Linked DNA regions of Homo sapiens: region 1 is linked to region 2. The links are contacts of gene promoters, found by promoter capture Hi-C in human tissues and cell types (Jung and others, 2019). All regions are on one chromosome and are shown on one strand. The core of a region is centred on a gene start or on the middle of the fragment in contact, and the rest is flanking DNA. Distances in the headings are between cores, read along the strand shown. Region 1 has its middle 45 kb from the start of CNTN4. Region 2 holds the start of CNTN4 (contactin 4).

Evidence for each region. Contacts are between HindIII fragments. The study calls those that stand out against the background at their distance.
Region 1: a contact is called between a fragment that was not itself captured here and the fragment with the promoter of CNTN4 in region 2, in 2 of the 25 tissues and cell types used here (aorta and neural progenitor cells).

Annotation. Positions count from the first base shown.
Region 1 is chr3:2,050,453-2,056,896 of GRCh38, forward strand. No RefSeq gene overlaps it. Among named protein-coding and RNA genes, the nearest start is that of CNTN4, 45 kb to the right of the region's middle. The HindIII fragment of the contact is 5,054 bases long and covers 1,376-6,429 here.
Region 2 is chr3:2,094,988-2,101,684 of GRCh38, forward strand. It overlaps CNTN4 (contactin 4), which reads left to right and starts at 3,879. Exons shown (of 25, transcript NM_175607.3): 1 at 3,879-3,991; 2 at 5,571-5,652. LOC124909338 (a long non-coding RNA gene) reads right to left here and starts at 3,268. Exons shown (of 2, transcript XR_007095785.1): 1 at 3,160-3,268; 2 at 2,594-2,971. RefSeq lists an enhancer at 1-442. The HindIII fragment of the contact is 20,122 bases long and covers 912-6,697 here.

The DNA.
Region 1 (6,444 bases), core at 2,653-5,152, 45 kb before region 2:
ACTGTTACCAATTACTTTACTTTGGAGTGAGTAAAACATCTATACCACAATGACTAGATAAAGAATGGGCTTAATCTTTCCTTGCCATCCCTTACCTCAGTCAACACAAGTTGTTGAAAAATGACTGATGAAAAAGCAAGGCTGAGAATGAAGCTAGGTCCTTCATAGAACCAAGATGTAGTTTGCAGTTGTTGAATTGCGCATTGATCAGGAATGTACAGTTACAGTCATATATTTCAGGTATAATTCCTATTATCCTGAAAGGAAGTAGTTAATCTGTCATTCCTGTTAACTGAAACTCTCTGCCACAGATGCTAAATAATTGTGAGCCTGCTTAAGAAAGAGATGGCAAAAACTATTTTGTGAATATAAATTTTTTAAAACACACAATTTTTATTTGCTTCATTAACTGCTACTTTAGGGGAGAGAAATAGGCACCCACTCTGTGAACTGATCATCTTGATAAGAAAGCTAATGAGACAGAAGCCACATCAGGTATTGTCAACTTCTTTTCCTGGTAATCAATACAAGAACAGCATCAGCAATCATTGATTATGTGTTTCCTGTGTGCCAAAGATTATGCTAAGAGACTCGTAGGGAGTATATAATTTAATCCCAACAAACCATATGCAATAATAGGATCATATAATTTTGCAGATAAGGAAACAGTGATGTAGAGAGGGTTCCTGGCCTGCCCAAAATTACCCCATGTTATCCCAGCTATAGGGTTGTCCGACAAAACATCAAAAAAAAAAAAAAAAAAAACAGCTACATTAGAATTCAGACAAATGACAAATAAATTTTAAATATAATGTCCCAAATATGTAGTATAAGTATGCATAAAAGAAAATTTGCCCTGGACCATTTAAACAGGCAAGAAATACTATTCATGACTATTGCAATGGGGAGAGAGACTATTTCAATAGGGAAAAGAGACTGAACAGAATTGGGATGAAACAAAAGAAGAGTTTTTAATTGCTGGGTGAGCTAGCAGAAAGGTACTAGAGAATGCTGGGAGCAGGTTGTTCAATGTGACTAGGCCATTTGTGTTTGCTAATTGGTGCTTATTAAAATTAGGCCTCTGCCCCCTCACAGAGACTGGGAGATATAGACCCTAACTTTCCTAATAATCACATTTCAAAGGGATAGCTCTCAGGTCCTTGAGAACGACATTTCTGGGATATAGAAGATTCATATATCAAAGGGGTAGAAAACTAATGTGCAATTTCAAGCTTTCTAAAGTAAATGCTCTTAAGAAAATGAAGGTCAAGGGCCAAGAGTCAGGAAGAAAACTAAAGTTTAGTCAAGCTAGAGAATGTTGAGGTCATCCTGGTCATGTGTCCCAAATATTATACAAAATATAATTATACTAAAAAAAAATTTGCTAATCTGAAATTCAAATTTAACAGGGCATCCTGTATTTCTATCTGCTAAATCTAGCAGCCCCATACAACGAGCAAGTTGTGGAACCAGTACACTGCATTGATTTGCTCCTGAATTCCTCCCTGGCATATAAAAGCTTTTGATTCAGTGTTTGGTAAATAACCAAAGTTTCCAGACTCTGTTTCCATTTTCTATTAATTCTCTAACTATCCCTATGTGTATGTTCATTTTGTTTAGAGAGAATATGAGGATTATTGCCAAGTGGGAGTGGGAGGCAGGCCTCAAGGCTGAATCAGAGCACAATTATTCCTTCAAGGATTATACAGAGAAGAAATATTTTCACTACTTCTCTACAGAGCACTTATAGCTCTGCTGTGTTACCTTGACACAGAGGAAAGCATAGCAAGTATTAAAGCCTCTAAACCAGCAATTATGTGCCCAAAGAAAAGATACTTCTGTAGACCTTCATTTTTTAAATTATATTCTTCATATATGGCTAAAGCTTTTCTTTAGTTGTGAGAAAACTTGCCCCTTCTTGTTTCAAAAAATTAAAAATCTAAAAAAAAAAGAATCCACACAAACTAATACAAATTCCATATTAAATTGTAGTCATTATGTTTATCAATTACACACAAAGTAATTATCAAATAATCATGTTTTAGCGGAATCTAATCTTTTTCATTGTGTTGAAGGAGGAATCCATCACTTTTGTTGTTGTGCACTTATCAACAATAATTTTTAATATTTTTCAAATGCTTATTTAGCATCTGCACAGGTGATTAAATTATTTTTTCCATAGATTTCTTATCAAACAGAATCATACTAATAAGTTCCTAATATTAAGCCATTCTTGCATTCCTGAAATAACCCATACTAGATTATAATGTGGCATGATTTGCAAGAACTGCTTAATTTGAGTTATAAATATTTTATTTTAGATTTTTAATAAATAATAAAATAATACATAAGATTCTTGTGTTTAGTACAATCTTTGTCAGGTTTTTATATCAATAATACACTCAGTCCCTTAAGATAGTTTGTAAATGTACCTTTATTTTTTACATGCTGTAATAAATTAAAGAGCATTACAATTATTTAAAAATTTGATTAAACCCCCTACGTAACCATCTGAGCCTGAGGTTTTTGAGTGGGATCTTCTTGATAGCATTCAATATTTCTTAAATGAAAATAGATTAATTTGAATTATTTTTTAAAAGTCTGTTTTGATAATTATATTTTCCTATAAAATTATACATTTCATTCAGGTGTCTAAATGTATTCATACAAATAATAATATTAATTTTCTTTTCTCTCTTTTTAAATTATTTATTTTTAGAGATGTAATCTAGCTATGTTGCCCAAATGCCAGGGCTCAAGTGATCCTCTCACCACAGCATCCCACATTTTTCTTTTTGTGATTAGTCAACCGTTTATTTTACTGTTCTACTCCCAAAATCTATTTGCATATTGCTTTTACTGTTTTTAAGTTTTCACAATAATTTATTTTTGCATTTATCTTTATTATAAATTCCTTACTTAGACCTTTTATTAGTGTATTTTATTTTTTCTAATTATTTTGCATCTGACACTTAATTTATTTGTCCTTATTCTTTCTTTCTTAAAAAAATGAATATAAGTTTTAAGGTTTTGAGTTTCCCTTAGAGCATTATGTCCCTTGGGTTCTGATAGATATTATTTTTATTTTTCTCTGTAAATCTTATTCTCCAGTTTTGGTTTTTCCTCTTTGAACTAAGAGCTGTTCGAAAGAGAGCATTTAAATCCCTCAGTGGAAGAATCTTTTGTGGGGGACTGATTTTGTTTGTATGCATAGATTTTCTGCACCATCATGGGAATATTATCTGTATTTTTTCACTTTCATAAATTTATTGAAATTACTTCTGGCGTAATATTTGGTTAATTTTTATGAATGTTCCATCTGCTCTTAAAAAGAAGATATATTTACATTTGTAGGAAATTGAACATTATTTATACACTATTAGTTAGATCAGCCTCTTAAATTATTTTTTTTGGGTAGTTGCTATAGACTGAATGTTTGTGTCCCACCCAAAATTTGTATGTTGAAACTAATCTTCAAGATGATGGCTGATGGTATTTGGAGGTGGGGCCTGTGGGAAGTGGTTAGCTCTTGGGGGAAGGGTGGCTAATAAATGGGAATAGTACCCTTATAAAAGAGACCACAGAGAGCTCCCTTCCCCTTTCCACCATGTGAGGACACAGTAAAAGTACAGCTGTAGAGATAACAGGAAGCGTCCCTCACCAAACGCCAGATCTGCAGCACCTTGTTCTTGGACTTCCCAGCCTCCCAAACAGTGAAACAGTGAGAAATAAAGCTCTGTTGTTTGTAAGCCACCAAGTCTATGATATTCTGTTATAACAACCCTAACTGACTAAGCCAGCTGCCAACACTTACAGTTTGTCAACTTCATTTGTCACAATCTGAGTATATTAGCCAGCTACTATTGTTTCCATTTATCTTTATATTTTTATAATTTTCTCTAGTACAACTTTGAGATCATGAGCTATTGGCCATTTGAGGTTTGTAAGGTATATGTACAGATGCATCTACATATTAATGTTATGTGCCATGTTCATGATAGGGTACGTTGTTTCTAAATTTAACTTTATTTTCTCCAAATTGCAGTGTGTATATTATGAGGTAAAGAAACTGAATAAAATAAAATCATGTCATTCTCATTACTCTACTGATTCTCTAATAGACAACAAACCTTATCTGCCCCTATCATATTAGAAAAATCCTGTGAGTACCTTTTAAACATTTCTATGCAACCAGGAGCAGATTTTCATAAGACCTGGTCTTTTTAATAGCTTTTTCACAAGAAAACTGGCTTTTACATCAGTAATTTAAATACTAAGTTCACCCACATTTTCATGTTTTCTTGGTGTGTGAAAAGTGGGCTTAAACTCCTCACATGACTTCTACAGAGAAGGAAACAGAGAGAAACCAGTCTCTCCTGACCTGAAAAACGAAGTAGCCACTGGACTGTGGGCGTGAATTGTTCTAAAGAATTCAGTGCCTTGTCACACTGTTCTGCCTGGTCCATCTTTGAATAAAAAGTGCCTAAGCAGAGTTTCTTTTTCTTATTATTATCTGCTTGCTACTCTTCCCCCAAATCAAACTAACGTGTATTCTAGATCTCTAAATTACTTGCTCCTTCTTCAGAGCCCTCAGCCACTCAATCTGTTACCTCCTTTTTCAAGCTGTATTTTTTCTTTCTTTTTTTCTAAGTAAACCTGACCCACGAAGTCTTTCTTCATATCTTCAGATTTTAGCATTAATAACAAGTCTTCTCCGAAGAAATATCAAAGAGCTTTACATTCTATTAATTATTCTCCTCATGTTTTCATCTCCTTCCTGTGTGATAGTTCCTCATATTTAGACAGTCATATAATAAATGTTAAACTCCTTGAAGAAAAGGAACATGCACTTCAGCAAAATGACTAGAACATTCTTTTATTCCAGTGAAACTGAAAAAAGAAAAAAAAAACTATGTTTCTACAGTTACATGTATCAGCTATTAATATTCTAATCACAGATTTTGAAACTAGAAAAGAAATATCATTGAGTCAAATCCATGTATGTTAAAGTTAACGAAGCTGATCCACAAAGGGGGGAAATGATTCTCTTAATACCTAAAACAACTCTATCATTGTTCAGTAGCCTATTTCTTCAAACAATATTTCTACTCATCATTTATATTATCCCTGCATAAGGATAACTTCCTAGGTTTGTCCTTCAGTCATTTGAGCTACAGATCCAGGGAGGAAAGAGTTGTATGTTTTGTAAATCTGACCACTGAGCTTCCCTCTAAATGGGGAGTGGCTTGGGTGACCTGAGAAAAGGGTTACATTTGTATAAATAATGTGCACTAATGGTGTTCATGCTGCTAAAAAAATGCTCCTGCTTTCAAACTATGCTGCCTGGAGAGCACAGGTGGATTTGTGGATTAGCTGTTTAAATATTTATGAAGCTATTTAGACATATTTTATTTATTGTAAAAATGTTTATACTATAATTATTTCAAGAATTAAGCTTTCACATGCTATCAGAGGCTTAAACTAAAATCTAATTATTCTCAATCATATCCTCCTAATGCTAGGTCATGTCCAAGTGGCAAAGGGTGAGAAAAGTTCTTTAATGGATATTTGTTGTCATAAACTTATTGATCAATCAATCAATCAACTCATATTTTCAAAGCATCTCCTTTGTGACAATCTTTGGAGAGATGTGTTGGGTACTCTAACACAGACTTACAATGATAGTAAATACATTTACTACTTACAAAGTATCAGGAGCTGGCATACATTAACTAATTTAACACAAAAGATAATCATTGAAGTAGGTCCTATTATCATTCCCTCTATATAGATGAAGAAACAGTCATTAGATTTTAAGAACTCAATGTTAATTCGAAGGCATAGGTTATTAGTGTAAGTACAACCAACAACTCTTGATAAATGTCAAAGTAGGATTGAGAATCAATTAAAGACTTATGAGAGTTGCAAAAATAAATCACACAACTGAGTGATTAAAATACAAAGAAATCAGATATCTGTAAAGTCGTGACCTATGTACCATACTTGGCCATAGTCAAATGTATATTATGTAGCTCACATTTTGATGCATTTAATTATCTCCCAAAATTGAATAATCAGCAGACTTCACATAAAATACCAGATTTCTGGCTCCTCGTATAAAACAAAAAATTAGAAGATCTAGAAGCTCTTGCTTCACATTTTCATATGATCACAGTCAGCTGGATCTAAGTACCGTTTACATGTCTTAGGTTAGTATTTACTCTCCAATTTACCATAATCACCACTGCTCTCTAATGTCTCTTAGAAGGAGCCTAACTCACTCAGATATTCTGCTCTCCTGGCTTATGTAGTCAAATGTGCTAATGTACATTGCTTCCTTATCATTACTGGGAGCAAGATGTTATCGGACATGTGAAATGAACATACCATTATTTTCCCTGTCCAGAAGCTAATGGTCCCATTTAGTAGAGAATAAAAAGAATA
Region 2 (6,697 bases), core at 2,629-5,128:
GGCTAAGAAAACAGTTGATTGGTCCCTAATTCCACCTTATTATGTTTAAATTCAGTGGGTGTCTCACAGCCACGTTTATAAAGGAATCTTGGCTGGGGTGTCAGGTTTCTAGTTTACTTTGACTCTATCTGTCAGTCTGTGTCCAACCTTCATGGCAATTAACTGTGCTTTTGTGTGCTAATTATCATTATCCCAGTATGGGCCCATTATTAGTCCAATGTCCTTAGTTTAAAGCTTAAGTGTCAATCAGTCACCTAAAACAATTGCATAGAAGGAAGCTTTGCAAGGCTGGTTTGAAAGTCCTTAGCTGAGTTCTACTTTATTATACTCCAGTTCGAAACTGAACACAAAGCTCTTCTTGATACAATTGTTTATTTAAATACTGATTTATCTACTTAATTAAAGCAAACTTGAGTTTATATTTTAAAATCAGGGATGGGATAATTGCTACTTTATGCTTGAAGATCTATTCAGGTAGCTATACATTAAACAAGTAAAACCGTAATTATAAAACCTGCACATTTTTATCTGATTGAGTCGCTCCTGCCATTGAACGACCTTATTCAAGTCATTTAGAACAAAGAAAGGTGGCATATATGAGTTTTTTAAAATCCCACTGGATGCCAGGAGTAAGGAGAAAATAGCATCAAATCAGATGTGGTCAGAAAAGAGGTATTTCTTTTCCTGTGATGCTTTTCCTCTTTCCTCCTCTTACAGTAAATCCCCACTTATCAAATCTTCAGATGTGTAGAGAAGGAATAAGGCAGGGGTAATGGGGGAGTGGGACAGAGAGATGCCCTTTCTGGAGTTTGCACAACGGTTGCATGCTGAGTAAAACCTGATGATGTATTCCATTCATGTCTCCAAAAAGTCAAAAGCGGTTTCAGCGTTGATTTCCCTTAAGAGTTATCAGTCCTCATTCAATTGGTTTAATGAGTGTAAGAGGTGACCTTGTGTCTATGTAGATACTCCCATATTAAAAGACCTGGATGTAAAACTTCACATATGTGTAAATAGTTATTTTGGAGGGTGTTGTGAGGGTTATTGCAGCTCTCTGCTCAGCTGCTACTCAGGCTAAACGGGCAGGAGAAATTTTCCACTGTGTTAGAATGATGATTATTTGCAAATTACATGAGCACCAGTAATTCATTCATGCAATGATACAGAGCTGGGTCTCAGTGCAGTGGTATTGAACTTGCTGCTGGGGGCGTTAATTGATTCGTTTGGAACATTCCCCTCCAGAGAATCCCAATCACAGGTCCCCTGATCAAGAAACGGACACGCAGTCGGGGTCCTGGATATGTAGAGACACACGTGTGAGGCTGTTGTCATCAAAATAAACCATTTCTGTCCCCTGACAGGGGTTGAGTCTATTAGGAACACTCCCCAATCCTGGGAGCTTCCGCAAGAGGCTTTCTATCTTGGCAGAGGTGGCAGCTGAGCATCGCTTCTTTGCTGCAGGATGGAAAAAAGGGACTGGATTATTGGCTGCATTTTAAACTAGCTGCTGTTCTAGAGAAAATGTTGGGGAGGGACTGAACAAGCTTAGCACTGGATCAGTGTGGGGGTGTGTTGGTGAAAAGAAAAAATGCCTCCTCCTAACTTAACGTTTAACTGATATCCCCTCAACACGACCCAAATCTGTCTCTCCAGATACACAATGTCTGTTTTCCTAACTACATGGTGAACTGTGGAGCAAGTCTTGGTCATGTTTAGTTTGTTTCCCAGAATCTACTAGAAGACAATGCCTAGCATATAGCAGGCACAGAATAAGGGCCAAAGGGGAGAATGGAAACAAAATATGTACATTTGAAATTTAGAAACACAGTTAAGGGACTTTGCCTGAAATTGTCATAAAACTTTGAAAATTGCTTCAATGTATAGTCCCAGTGGGAGAATGTGACAGCATATTTTATTCTTTGTTCTTTTCTGAAATTCTGTGTCCAGTCTAAAACACGACATTTCCCTTTAATGTGTTAGGAGTATGCATGACTACACAGGAATATTTTCTGGAGAACTTCTGGTGAAGCATATTTTGATAAACAGTCTTACTAAAAGTTATATATATGTACTTTTAATTGACTAGTTGCAGAGAAATAATCAATGTAAAAAAAAATCATACATAGTACAGGTAGTAAAAGTCACAGTTCCGGCAGAAGCACAAAAGCCTTCAAAGTGAGTGGGAACCTGGGAACCATTGATCCTCAGTGGCTGTTTACCATGGAAAACACCTGCATCACCAACATTCCAGTTTTGCAAAAGTACCTCTATTACAGACACATACCAGGCAAGGAGGGAGGAAAAAGCCTGAAAATTTCTCTCCAAGTTTAAGTAATCAGGAAACTTTGGTGGGGAGGTTGGGGTGGGGTGGGGGCGGGGGGGTAACTTCTTTATTTAGCATTAATCTCAGCAATCATGAAAGTCATGGAATTTCAAGTGATGAAAAATTTGACCACAACAATACCTATCACTAGCCTGGTTTTGCCCACTTCTCGAACAGGAATTATAAAGATAATAATTAATTCTAAAAAGCAGAAGACAAAACAAACAAACCAAACCAACACTGAATGAACTAATAAGGCTGCTGCATATATATGTTGGAGTTGGATGTTTATTTGCTTACTGCAGTAGTTTAAAAATAGTTTTCCAGTTAACATCTTTTCCACATAGTGGAGATGTCAGGGTAGGTTTACATGATTGCGTAAATGGTCAGAAGTTGTTTATGTAGCTCTGAACTGCTGAGAGATGAGCAGGAAGACCTGGGTTCAGCAAAACCCTTGGGGCTTTTTCCCAGAGAGAGAAACAGAGGCTCCTCTCTGGGTTGCTGGAATGCTTTCCAGACGAATTCGACTGGGTTGGCTTTTCTCTGCCTGTCAAAGTCACTTTGCACAGTGCTGGTGAGGGGCTGGGGCATTGCTGCCAATCTCTACGGTTACCCCGAGGTGTGGAGTTGCGGCGAAGGGAGCCACTTCTGCAAGGAAACAGTAGATTCATAATGTAGAATGACCGTGGCAACGTCGTTCAAAGCACATTCTTTCGAATAACAAGGCTTTCGACATGCCCCACCCCCGCGCACAACACACCACAAATTGATCCTTGTACCTAATTTACAGCAACTGTTCCCTCTGACCTCCCCCCGCCCCCGCCCCACATTCCAACCTGAAAGCACTTTGCGTGGATGAGACTTCAGGTGTGTAACGCAGCCTGTCCAGCCAGTGTCCTCCGCCTAAGGACAGGCAGGTAAAAACCTACCAAAGCCCCCTCTTCTGGCCTAAGTTCAATGCCACCCGCCCACCCACATTCCCCGGTTCAGCAATTTTCAGCCCAGACGCAGAAGCATCTGTTTCCCTGGCCAGGGCGCCTTAACGATCCCCCGAATTCCGCGTCTCCCGGAGGCCAGAGGTTTGGGTACCCAGGAAGGTCGCGCCTCCTCGTGCCCCGATACTCGGGTTGTAAAGGGAGGAGACATCGCCTCGGCGCATCCCTGGCCGCTGAACAACGCAACCCCTACGTCCCCGCACGGGAATCCGGCTGATAATCTCCTCTTGCCTGAGAATCGGGCCAGGCGCCCTTTACTAATTTCGCGCGCTGGGGACCTGGGGCTGCCGCCTCTCGGCCGCGCGGGGCAGGTGCTGCGTCCCCAGCGCTCGCCTCCTCCGGCCGCGCACTGAGCATGCGCGGGCTCCGGGCCTCCGGCGCGTCTCCCCGTCCCCGCTCGTCTCCCGCCCGTTCCCACCCGCCCGCGCCTCTCCCCTTCCCCGAGCGTCTCCCCCGCCCCGCGGCTAAGGAGCCGGCAGCCCGAACTCCGGCGCGCCAGGTTTTTCCAGCCGCCGCGAGCGCCGGGAGGGAGGGCAGCGCCGCGCCAGACGGAGCCCGGGGTTCGACGCCAGGATTGGCTGCAAGTAGGGAGCTTTCGCCGCCGCCCCGGGCCCCTCGGACTGTGCCGGCGCCGCACCCGAGGCTCTCGCCAGCCCGGCGCCCCGGTGCTGAGGTAAGTGAGGCGGCAGCTGTGCGGGTCCGGCTCCTGCGTGGGCGCGCGATGCCCCGGGGACGCGGTCGCGGGTGTGGGGGGGAAAGGGCAGGGTCCGCGCGGGTTGCCCGAAGGACAGGGGCGCTTCCCGGGGCTCTGACTCCCGCGGGGCCGGGCAGCGTCTGCGGGGCCGTCCAGCTCAGAGCCCGGAAGCCCTGCAGGGTCGGGGAGCGGGAGCTGAACGCCTGAGCGCGGAGGACTCAGGGCCCCGACGACGCCACCGTCACCCCACAGCGACCCTTCTTCTCCTTCTCAGCCGGAAAATAAGTTTGTTGCGCTGCGAGGCAGCCACAAAACAAGGAACCGAGAGCCCGGAATGCTGCGGGAAGCCTTCAAGTCAGCTCCTCCGACTGGTTCGGGCTACTGCCCCCTCTCCGTGCGCCCTGGCCTCTGGCGCCGGGTTCCCGGCGGGGCTTTTCTTCTGACAGCCCAGTCACAGCCCGCAGCAGAGGGACGCGAACCTGGGGAGTGGAGGGACCTGGGACTAAAGGAACAGGAGCCCGTAGCCGTGGTGGAAGGAGCCGCGTGGAGACGGAGGCTGATGTCTGTGGCGCCCGCTGGGTGCCGGGCTGGCTGCTGAGCGCTGAGGCTGCGGCGGCGAGCGACAGGCCAGGTGCCTGCTCTTAGGGAAGGTACCTGGCTTCCCCAGTCTCTGCCGCGGGAGCCTGTTGGGTGGCATTCGTTTCCAGCAACTTCTGGGGGGTTTCCAGTTTCTTTCGAGAGGCAAGACAACCGCCCCGTCCCCTCCCCGGGCCCAGACGGCGGCGAACTGTGCGCCGGGCGCCCCACAGACCCCAATCCACTCACTCTCCTTCTGGAACGCGGGGCTCAAAATCTTCGTGCATTTTCTCTCTTGTGCTTCGTGTATATGTTTTACTATTTATGAAGGGTGTGGAGGTGAGGGTAGGAGGACGTGGGCTCCTGAATCCCTCTGAACCAGCCAGAGAGTCGGCTGCATGGAAACATTTCGCAGCGAAGCTCCTGCGAGGAGGCGGCTTCGCGCGTCGGGAAGATCAGGCGGTTGCTTGCTGGCCAGGGTCTGCAGATTCGGTGCGAAGAAGCTGGCGGAGGTTGTGTAGGGCGAGTCAGTGTGACTGAGCACCCTGGGTGTGTGGTCTGCGTGGAGGAGAGTGGGCCGGATCTTGAGGTGTGTTGGAGGTTTATTTGTAAGAGGAGTTCCTGAAAGGAATGTCGTGGAACTTTTTCTAGTTTTCCTGCTGGAATCAACATAGGGGCGGGCACATGTTTGTCAGAATAACAGTGGCATTTAACTGCATGGGAAGCTCTTTCAATTTTCTGTAGTGGGAGCTGGATAGTTCAAGGAGTAACTCCACATAACTGAGTCGTTTGGATACCCACACAAGATAATTTGGAACGCGCTTGTATTTTTTTGTTTTTTGAGATTTCTGGTTTATGTCCTTTAGAGAGTGGGGTAGGAGCGTAAAGACTGTATAGGTTGCCTATGAGCAGGTCCATACAATAGCGTTCCCAAGTCTGCCTAATAGCAAGTTTGTTCTCTCTTTCTCTCTCTCTACCCAAGTGGGTGAAAAAGAACAGTGTGTCATGAAGACAGGCACCTGGAGGTGATTTGGGTGGCATTCATGAGAAAATTCACGTTACCCGTAAGTTTATTCTTGCTATTTTTATCTTGATTTCTTTAAAGATTTTGTGGGAATATCTGCAGTGGGTCGCAGGAGTAGGTAAGATTGCTAAGGATCAAAAACAAGTTTCATGAGAATATTATTTTTGCTACCTTATAAAATAGCTATTGATTTGTTTGTTGAAGCTGGTTTCAACTGCTCTGTCTTGTTGAGGAGAGATGATGCTGATAAACGTCATTATTTTTCCATCTGAACCCTGGGAGGTAGCTGGCAAGGATGGAAAAACTGACCTTTTCAATTAAAGACTAAGAGTCTAAGAGAAGTGACTTGGATAAGGGTGCATGTCAGAGCCACATGTAAGTTTCAACAGAGGTAGATTTTCCTATTTGCAGTTTTTTAAACAACACTTTTCAGTTTCTTTGAGTTGTAAAACTTTTCAAGTCAATTGGGAGTCAATGCAGTACCTTTTTCCATGGTCATTTCATATTGGCAGGTAATTAAGAGTGATTAGAGAACAAACCTTTCAAATGATGTTGGATTTTTTATCATTCACTTATTTTACCTACTTCTCTCTCCTTTTTGTTCAAAAGTAGGTCTTCTGATTTCTTTTCCGATCTAAGCACTAAATCTTTTGGCTGCAGTTTTTCTTCTGAAATGTATACAGGGCATCCGTTCCTTCAATTTAGGTCTTAAAAAAATAAAGCTGCTCAGCAGAAAATTCCCATGCATGGTACTGACTTTTCTACAAGTTTGTCTGATCATGATTTTAACTTGTTGTTTCTTCTTTGTTATATTTGAGGACAGACATAATATGCATTAGCTTCAATCTCTCTTATCTTAAAAATTAATATTTTGTAAAAACTTGCTTTTATATTATTTTAGTTGAATAAGTCTATTTCATATGATAGGCAGGGGGAAGTCTCTACACACTGATTTTTTTTGTTCCTTTTTGTTCATTTTTCCCTGTAATGCTATGTTTTAAGCCTAGTGAAGGAGGCAAGGAGGCAGGATTTACTGCCTAGATTTATTGATCTTCATTATTATTATTATTTACTATCAGAAGAAA